Regions from separate parts of the Homo sapiens genome. Here region 2 is linked to region 1. The links are contacts of gene promoters, found by promoter capture Hi-C in blood cells and fetal thymus (Javierre and others, 2016). All regions are on one chromosome and are shown on one strand. The core of a region is centred on a gene start or on the middle of the fragment in contact, and the rest is flanking DNA. Distances in the headings are between cores, read along the strand shown. Region 1 holds the start of PCDHB15 (protocadherin beta 15). Region 2 holds the start of PCDHGA3 (protocadherin gamma subfamily A, 3).

The links. The method cuts DNA at HindIII sites, captures the fragments that hold promoters and counts their contacts. A CHiCAGO score of 5 or more calls a contact.
Region 2: a fragment that was not itself captured here is called in contact with the fragment with the promoter of PCDHB15 in region 1 in 1 of 17 cell types (M1 macrophages); the score reaches 5.6 in M1 macrophages.

What each region holds. Positions count from the first base shown.
Region 1 is chr5:141,243,108-141,248,134 of GRCh38, reverse strand. PCDHB15 (protocadherin beta 15) reads right to left here and starts at 2,740. Exons shown (of 1, transcript NM_018935.4): 1 at 1-2,740. The coding sequence starts at 2,556. The coding sequence ends at 193. It also overlaps PCDHB@ and the pseudogene PCDHB19P. The HindIII fragment of the contact is 5,789 bases long and covers 1-5,027 here.
Region 2 is chr5:141,342,731-141,347,757 of GRCh38, reverse strand. All of the region lies in intron 1 of PCDHGA1 (protocadherin gamma subfamily A, 1), which reads right to left. The region is part of intron 1 of PCDHGA2 (protocadherin gamma subfamily A, 2); the gene reads right to left. It overlaps PCDHGA3 (protocadherin gamma subfamily A, 3), which reads right to left and starts at 3,929. Exons shown (of 4, transcript NM_018916.4): 1 at 1,301-3,929. The coding sequence starts at 3,724. It also overlaps PCDHG@. The HindIII fragment of the contact is 1,971 bases long and covers 1,243-3,213 here.

The DNA of each region.
Region 1 (5,027 bases), core at 1,491-3,990:
ATAAAATATTTATAATAATACAATAATTTGAAAACTAACAATCAGACAAAGGAAATGAGTAACATTACTAAAGACAACAGTAGAAATTTAAAAAAAAGTAGAATTCAAGATTACTAAAGGGTTAAAAAAAACTAAGGTGAAAAGTGAGGAAGACAAAATTAACAGACGGTCGGAAAGCTACAGATACCTACATTATTCTAGAAATTCTGATTTCCTCCTAGAGTCCTGGCTTACAATATTTGGGAATATAGGCTTCAAGAACTTGAAATCATTACTTTCAGAGCCTCCCGTCAGACACACCTCGTACTGGTAGCTCTGGGAAAGGGTCCCGGTGCCGCTCACGTCCACCAGATGCCCTGGAAAGGGGCCCTCGGGCACCGAGCAGCGACCCACTGAGGCCGCCCTGCTCCTCCTGCACAGCCGCACTGCCACGAACAGGAACACCGAGAAGAGGAAGAGCGAAGACACCGAGGCCAATGCCACCACCAGGTAGACGGTAAGCGAGTCGGCCTGGGCTTGGGCCGGGGCCGCCTCTGGGAGCGGCAGGTAGGGCTGAGAGAAGCCGTCCACCAGGAGCACTTGCAGCGTGGCGGTGGCCGAGCGCGGAGGCTCGCCATTGTCCTTGACCAGCACCACTAGCCTGTGCTTGGCCACGTCGCGCTCGCTCAGCAGCCTGGCGGTGCGCACCTCGCCATTGTGCGCCCACACGCCGAACAGCCCGGGCTCCGTGGCCTTGAGCAGCTGGTACGACAGCCAGGCGTTCTGGCCCGAGTCGCCGTCCACCGCCACCACCTTGGTCACCAGGTAGCCCGGCTCGGCCGCCCGGGGCACCAGCTCGGTGCAGGGCGCGGAGCCGTTCTGCAGCGGGTACAGCACGAAGGGCGAGTTGTCGTTGGCGTCCAGCACCAGCACTCGCACCAGCGCCTCGCTGCTCAGCGCCGGGAAGCCGCGGTCTGTGGCGCCCACGCGGAACTCGAAAGCCTGCAGGGCCTCGTAGTCCAGCGACTGGAGAGCGAACAGGTGGCCGTTGTCCGTGTTAATGGAGACCAGGGAGGTGAGGGGCAGGTGCGGGTCCCGGGGCGGCAGCAGCGAGTAGGTGACCTGGGCGTTGGTGCCCGAGTCTCTGTCTGTGGCGCTGACACTGCCGATGTGCAGGGCGGGGCTGTTGTTCTCGCGGACGAACAGGGTGTAGGAGGTTTGGGTGAAGGCGGGGGCGTTGTCATTGACGTCCGACACCAGCACGGTTATGCTCTGCTCGGTTTTCAGCCTTGGAGTCCCCAAGTCTGTGATGGTGATGGTGATGTTGTACTCGGCTCTGGTCTCTCTGTCCAGCGCCCCTTCTGTTACCAGCCTGTAGAAATTCTCAACAGAAGGTTTTAGCTTAAAAGGAACATCATCCTGAATTGAGCAAATCATTTTTCCATTTTCCCCAGAGTCTCGGTCTCTAATCCTAAACAGGGCCACTTCTGTCTCTGGAGAATTCTCGGGAATAGGGCTGGTAAGTGATGAAATACTTAGTTCCGGGAAGTTATCGTTAACATCCAGCACCTTAACAGAGACAGAGCATTTTCCAGAAAGTCCCCCGCCATCAGATGCCTCTATATCTAGATCATACGAAGACATTGTCTCAAAATCTAGTTTTTTAATTAGTCGAATTTCTCCTGAAAGGCTGCTTAGCTCAAAAGGTTTGTCTATCTCCTGAGAGCTGTAATAAAGGGAGTATGATATCTCTCCATTTGTCCCAGTGTCTAAATCCCTAGCAGAGACCTTGACAACTAGGGAGCCTACTGGGCTGTTCTCTGGGACCTGCACCTCGTAGAGCGCCTGCACAAACTCCGGGGCATTGTCATTGGCGTCCAAGACCAAGATGAGGATCTGGACGGTGCCAGATCGGGGTGGAGAGCCACCGTCCACCGCTGTCAAGGTTAATCTGAGCTCGGCCTGCTCCTCGCGATCCAGTTCTGTGTCCAGCACCAGCTCTGGGTATTTCCTGCCATCCCCTCGGGTGCGAGTGGAAACATGGAAATGAGAATTGGGAGAAATATTGTAGTTTTGAACATTATTGCTGCCCACGTCCAAGTCCCGAGCTTTTTTCAGAGGAAACACAGTCCCAAGGGAGCTAGTTTCTGGGATTTTCAGGGTCATTTCTCTTTCAGGAAACTCAGGAGAATGATCGTTTATGTCTGTCACTAGTAGTTCAGCTCGAAATACTTCCAAAGGTTTTTTCAGTAACACTTGGAAATGCATTATACAGGGCTCAGTAGGGCCACACAGCTTCTCCCGGTCCAGCTTCTCATTTAATATCAACTGCCCGGTCTGCAGATCAAGCTGCAAGCCTTGTTCGTTATCCTCAGAAACTACCCGGGCTCCCCGCTCGGCTAGCTCCCCCACTCCCAGCCCTAGGTCATTGGCCAGGTTGGCTACAAAAGAACCTCTCTCTGTTTCCTCCATCACAGAATAGCGACGGGGTTCCCAGCCTGCCAGAGTCACTTCCAGTAAAAGAAGGAGAATCAGGACTTGCCTTTGTTCGGGAAAGCGCTCCCCTGCAGGCTCCATCTTTACTTCTGTACACGCCCCTTTCAAGGAACCGGAGTCAGAGCTACTTCAGGGAGCGATGGGACAGAGGCAGTGATCGATCTGTGCGTTGATAACCTGTTCGGAAATGTAGGAGAATAGCATTCTCCGGAGACACTGGTCCGTGCTCTGCTAACAGGCTTTCCTCTTAGGCTGAAAGAGGTCTGAAGTAGCTAGTAGCATTTCATGGGCTTTTTCCTTTTCCTTTTTTTGAAGCCTTAGCCTGCAGCGCCACCATGCGTTGTCTTTGCTTCGAAACGAATTGCTACAATTGATCTATTCTCTATTCTATTAGGAGTTTGGAAATTGGGAGGAAATGATGTAATCACAATATCACGCAATGGTAATTATTAATTTCTTCATTTAAAGGAGTATTATTGGTCTCTATGTGCCAAATTATGAAATACATCAGTAAACAACCCAGACATGGTCCCCACCCTCCAGAGCCTGTAGTCTGGGTGTAGTGTTCTGAGGGAAATTGAGAAGTGAAAGAAGACATAATAGTGATCAGTCATCTTGTAATAATAATAACATAAAGCCACGTGATTTCTTAAAAATTTATCAGCAAAACAAAATGAATTCTTTAATTTCTTTCAAATTCTAGACAGCCTATGTACCAGAATTGTGCTCCCATTGGTTGGATTACATCAAGAAAAAGCTACACGTTAATTCCAGTGTGGTATCCTTTCTACATAAAGTCAGAGAGTTATGATTTTATGAAAATTTTAAACTGTGGAAAAATACATATGAAGGCACTTCCTATATCTCTTACTTTGCTTTTTCTTTTTTTTCTTTTCATTTTTCCTTTTTTTTTTTTTGAGATGGGGTCTTGCTCTGTTGTCCAGGAGGGAGTGCAGTGGCACAATCACTGCTCATTGCAGCCTTGACTACCCAGGCTCAAGCAATCCCCCCACCTCAGCAACTGTAGCTGGGACCACAGTTGCGCATCACCATGCCTGGCTAATGTTTTAATTATTTGTAAAGATGAGGTCTTGCTATGTTGCCCGGGCTGGTCTCAAATTTCCGAGCTCAAGCAATCCTCCTGCCTCAGCCTCCCAAAGTGCTGGGGTTATAGGCATGAGCTGCTGTACCCAGCCCTGCCTTGTCTCTCTCGTATTTATTATCTGACGTAGTATAGATGTACTTATTTAGTTGTTTCCTTTCTGTTTCAACCTCACATGTTAGAACTTCATTTTGTTCACTGCTGCATCCCCAATATCTAAAATAATCCCTGGCACATGGTACGTGCTCAATAAATATTTGTTAAATGGATCCATTAATAAATCACAATTAATTTAAACATTCTGACAGATAGGTTCTCCTCCTACTGTAGAAATTCCCTCTTCTTCTGGGATTCAAGTTCATTATATAAGATGGATAAACAAAGACAACATGTTCATAAGGTAGCTATTTCCTATGCCCTTTAAATAGTAATGTGAAATAACTCAGAATGACCTAAAATGTCATTTCATTAAGTGGCAAAACAACTTAGCTACCCATAAGCAAGGGATATATTATATGACAGAAAGAAAGAACATAACAAGATTATGATGACCCTAAAGATAAGGATTATGTCTCTTTTAGACACACATTTTTCATTGTCAAGGTTTTTTTTTTACAGTAATGTTATTATGACACTTACGATATTCAAAACTCTTATATAATAAAATGTTCTAAGAATTTCTATTAAACACTTCAAAGACTGTACCATTGGAAAGATCCTTCAGTTTTTCTCAAAATTGTATATTCTGACAAAAGCTAGTGCATGTCCCTTATAGACTACTAATATTTTACAACCTCCTTGATCCCAAATGTTGTCATACTAATATGAAAAGCCACAATAAAAACCCAATAGGAAGAAAGGTCTAACTTACCAACAATGCAGGAATATCTAAACATGCTTTTGACAACAAAAACCTCACTTAGATCTCTTAATTAGAGGGAAATTTATTAAAGAGCACAAATTTGTCTCCAGCAACCTAAGGGAAAAAGACTTGGGAGGGACTGGAAAATCTAAAACAGGAAAATCTATGACAAGGTCATTCTTTTGGTACCTTATTTTTTCTTGTCTCTCAATAGATTGATGTTCTGTATTTCTTTGCAAGTGTTTAGCCAAATATGACACCACTTTCTGCTTATGTTCCTAACAAAGAGACTATGTTGTATCTGGTTCTTAAAGCCATTTTTTTTTAAACAGAGAGAATCAGATTAGGCCAGCTAGGATCATCTTATTTTTGTGTTTGAAATCACAGAGGGAGGTGGGTCATATAAAATAAATGTGGCTGCAACATTACACTTCAGCCAAAGACAGGGAGAATTTTCCAGAAAAAGATCAGGTGGGCTAGATAGACGCTACAAAAGGGAGCTATGATTTTAAAATCTTGAGATAATCTAATAATCACTAAAGATGCTCGTATGGCCGGGCAAGGTGGCTCACACCTGTAATGCCACAC
Region 2 (5,027 bases), core at 979-3,478, 100 kb before region 1:
TGGAGTGCAGTGGCCCAATTTTGGCTCTCTGCAACTTCTGCCTCCTGGGTTTAAGCAATTCTTCTGCCTCAGCTTCCCAAGTAGCTTGGATTACAGGCGCCCACCACCATGCCCAGCTAATTTTTGTATTTTTAGTAGAGACAGGCTTTCACCATGTTGGCCAGGGTGTTCTTGAACTCCTGACTTCAAGTGATCCACCTGCCTCAGCCTCCCAAAGTGCTGGGATTACAGCATGAGCCACTGCACCCAGCCTCTACATTTTTGTTCTCCAATTTTTATGTTATTGAGATGAAAAGAATAACAGGCCAGGCATGGTGGCTCATGCCTCTAATCGCAGTACTTTGGGAGGCTGACGTGGGCAGATCACTTGAGCTCAGGAATTTCAGACCAGCCTGGGAAACATAGCAATTGCCCCATCTCTACAAAAACAAAAACAAATTAGCTGGGAGGGTGGCTCGTGCCTGTAGTCCCAGCTACTCGGGAGGCTGAGGTGGGAGGATCACTTGAGTCTGCGAGGTCAAGGCTGCAGTGAGCCGTGATCATGCCACTGCACTCCAGACAGAGTAAGACCCTGTCAAGAAAGAAAGAAAGAAAGAAAGAAAGAAAGAAAGAAAGAAAGAGAGAAACAGAGGAAGGAAGGAAGGAGGAAAGAGAGAGAGGAAGGAAGGAAGGAGGAAAGAGAGAGAGGAAGGAAGGAAGGAAGGAGGAAAGAGAGAGAGGAAGGAAGGAAGGAGGAAAGAGAGAGGAAGGAAGGAAGGAGAAAGAAAAAAAGAGTGTCACCTGTCTTGGAAGGAGTCAAACATCATTTAATTTCATGGGCATAAAATATCTTTTATTCATATGTATTTTTACTTGTATGTATCAGGATAAGCTATACAGGTTGGAATGACAAACTCCAAAGCACAGGGATTTAAAATGAAAAAGGCCTATTTATCACAGGTATACAAACCAGTGTTGTGTTTCTCTCATCATAGTTACTCAAGGACCCAGGTAGAAGGAGCAGTCACAATTTCAAATAGTAACTTAGAGATCTGAAAATTCTCACAGTGGCAGATTCCTCTAGGAAGTGACACTTTACTTTCACTCACGATGTATTATTTTTTCCCTAAGCCCACTCAACCATAACCAGACCGGGGAGTGCAGTCCTACTATAGGCCCAGAAAGAAAGGGGGACAAATATTTAGTCAAAGGACTAATGACAACCTCATGGCTTTATTTCTCAAATACATATGTGTTAAAGCTTTATAATAACCACATTCTCATATTTGTTCTTAATAATCAAAGAAATAAATAAACTCACCTGAAGTAGGTTGGAATCTCCTTTCATTTCAAGTAAATCCTGAGTTATCAGAAGAGGCTCGCTTTTCTCACAGCTCTCCTGGCTGATGAGCGTGTCCGCATAGTTGGGCTGGGGGAAAATCAGGTGGCTCTTCCGCGAGTCCGCAGTGAGGGAGACCTCGTGGGAATAGGTCTGCAGGAAAGCCCGAACCCCGTCCGCGCCCACAAAGTGCGAGCCGGGCGTACTCGCCAAGCCGCCTCCCGAAGCCTGCAGCAGGCGTGACTTGTGCCAGCGCCGCAGCCTGAGCGCCAGCAGCACGATGACGAAGGCCAGGAAGACGCAGGAGACCGCGGCCACCGCCACCACCAGGTACAGAGTGAGGTCCGAATCGTTGGGTTTGGCGGAGGGCTCGAGGCTGCCCAGGTCGGCCAGGATGTCGGGGATCCTGTCGGCCACGGCCACGGTGAGCGTGACAGTGGCGGAGAGAGGGGGCTGGCCGTGGTCCTGGACGGCCACCACGAGGCTCTGCTTGAGCGCGTCTCTGTCCAGCAGGGCTCGCGCCGTGCGCACCTCGCCCGTGTGCAGACCCACCGAGAAGAGTCCCGGCTCGCTGGCCTTGAGCAGGCGGTAGGACAGCCAGGCGTTCTGGCCCGAGTCTCTGTCCACCGCCACCACCTTGGTCACCAGGTAGCCGGGCTCTGCGGAGCGAGGCGCCAGCTCCACGCCAGTGGAACCGTCTGTGGGGAGGGCGGGGTACAGGATCTCGGGCGCGTTGTCGTTCTGGTCCAGCACGAACAGGTTCAGCGACACGTTGCTGCTGAGTGGAGGGTTCCCGCTGTCGCTGGCTGTCACCAGTAGCTTTAAGTCTCTAAATTGCTCGTAGTCGAAGGATCTCAGCGCGTATAGGACGCCAGTGTTGGAGTTGATAGAGACGAAGGAGGACAGGGGCGCCCCCTGGAGAGTGTCCTCGGTCAATGCATAAGTGATGCGGGCGTTGTTGTTGCTATCTGGGTCCTGGGCTGTCACTGAGAAGATGGAGGCTCCTCTGGGGTTGTTTTCTGGAATGTAGGCGGAGTAGGATAAATGAGGGAAGGTGGGTGGGTTGTCATTGATGTCAATCACATGCAGGGTGATGTGAGTTTCTGTGGACAGTGGCGGGCTTCCCCCATCTGAGGCTCTCAGACTAATGTTATATTCTGATATTTGTTCGCGGTCCAGGGATGTGGCCGTCACTAAGCGGTAATATTGATCTATTGATTTTTCTAACTTAAATGGCAGATTTCCCAGGACAAAAACTTCAACCTGCCCATTCTGCCCAGAATCTCGGTCATGCACGTCGATAAGAGCAATTTCTCTTCCAACGGTGCCCTCTTCTGGGACTGAGCTTGTGAGAGACGTGATTGTAATTTCTGGAGCATTGTCATTCACATCCAGAACCGTGACTAGAATCTTGGCTCTTGAAAGAAGACCTGGTCCATCCTGTGCTTCAATTTTAATTTCATAGAACATGGCATCCTCATAATCTAGACTTTTTAATATTGATACTTCTCCACTCACTGAGTTAAGATGGAAAATCTCAGCGATTTTCCCAGGCATTTTATCTAGAATATAAGACACTTGAGCATTGAATCCCTCGTCAGGGTCAGTGGCATTCACCGTGAGCAGCCGGGTACCCACAGGCACGTTCTCCCAAACACTCACACGGTACTCAGGCTGAGTAAACATTGGTGGGTTGTCATTTGCATCCAGGACTATCACTTGGATGTGCAAGTTGCCAGAGTGGACAGGGTCGCCACCATCAGAGGCAACCAGGACAAGCTGGTGAATTTCTTTTTTCTCACGGTCCAGGGCCCGCTCCAGCACCAGCTCTGGATACTTGGCCCCCTCAGAGACGCTATTCACAGCCAGAGAGAAGTAGTCATTGGGGCTAAGCTTGTAGTTCTGCAGGGAGTTAATGCCTACATCTGGGTCAAAAGCAGTTTTAATTGGAAATCGGGTTCCAGGAACCGTTAGTTCACCAATTTTTATTTCCAATTCCTCTGTTGGGAAATTAGGAGCATTATCATTAATATCTTTAATTTCTATTTCTACTTCAAAAATTTTCAATTTATCCTCAACCAGAATGTTAATTTTTACCAGACACAGCGGGATCTGAGCGCAGAGCTCCTCCCGGTCTATCCTCTCCGCGGTGACCAAGCTGCCGCTTTGCGGATTCAGAGAGAAAAGCTGCGTCCTACCTCTGGAGACGATGCGGACTCCGCGCTCCGCCAGCTCCCGGGGCTCTAGCCCCAGGTCGTTAGCGATGTTGCCCACGAAGGAACCTTTATCTAGCTCCTCAGACACCGAGTAGCGGATCTGACCGGATCCTGTTTCGCACAGCGTCCCCAGGAGCGCGCACAGCAGGGCCAGTCCTCTGCCATTTCGGAAACTCAGGCAATTGGTCATTTCCTTTTCGGTGAATCGCTTTCTCTGAATTCGGTTCCAGTTTCCTACGACGGACTCCAATCTTATTTTCTCAAGAAACGAAGTCTTTTACGGGCCTAATTCACAGGTCAAACAGCTGGTTGACTAAGAGGTGAGGTTGGCAGCCGCCCCGGATCTTCTGAGTCTGATTTGCTGGTTCTTTGCATTTTAGGAGCAAGGAAATGGTGGACTAGTTCTCCAGCTGCGTTCTCCTTCTTGAGTGGTCAACAGCGACACTAAGAGGCCTAACCGTTTACTGCATCCTCTCAGACACATTATTATTTTTGAATTATCCAAGATCTGAAATCCTTCTTGTCAGAGATAAGAGGACTAGTGTTGATTGAACATAATTGAATCGATATATGTTAAACAGTGTCACCTCAAGTTATCTTTCTTGGGAATCCATGCACTAACCTTAATGCCACCAATATTGCTTCAAACATAGTGGAGTTAACTTTTTTGAATTGTTCAGTTTAAGAAACACACAGTAACAAAGAACTGGCCGTAAGGACCAACACAACTATTAAAAGACATGACCACCACTTGTTCTTCCACCACTGAACCTTGATAATGTGTTTATTCTTATACTTACTACATTTATCAGGGTTATTTGATAAGATATCCACCTCCTCTTTGACCTTTCCCTCTCTATACTCTTAACTCTCTAAGAGCTGAGACAAGGAAAAAAAGAAAAGAAACACACAGAAATCAGCCATATTTATACATTATATTTCTTTAAGTTTGTTCTTGGTGACCTGATAACTTAGTTTCGATATTTGTTGTTATTTAATATTCATTAAACAAACACATAATTAGGCATCAGACAATATGTTTGGGGATTTAAGGTGAACAATATAGACACAGTAGCTTCCTTCACAGAGATTATAAGGATATAAAAGCAAACAGGGAATTGCAGTGTACTGAGATAATTACCATAATGGGAGAAGCCAAGGGGGTTAGGGGGGCCTTCAATTGGGCCTTTAATGTTAGCAAACGCTTTCCCAGGAAACATGAGAGGAGTGGATCAGTGAAAAGGCCTGGATGTGGGAGAGAACAGCATGACAATGCCTAGGTGTGAGAGAGAAATCACAGACCTTCAGGGTACTGAAAGAAGTTTCCTTTGTTTAAATCTAGACTGTAAGGATGTTTTTTCAAAACCAACTGAAACTAGTAGAAATAAGCTTTTATGTTCCAGAATCTCTTTCCCCATAAGTTTCCAAGCACAGAAATATAAATACAATATATTTGTCGTTTCAATCATGATGCATTACATATCTATGCATAA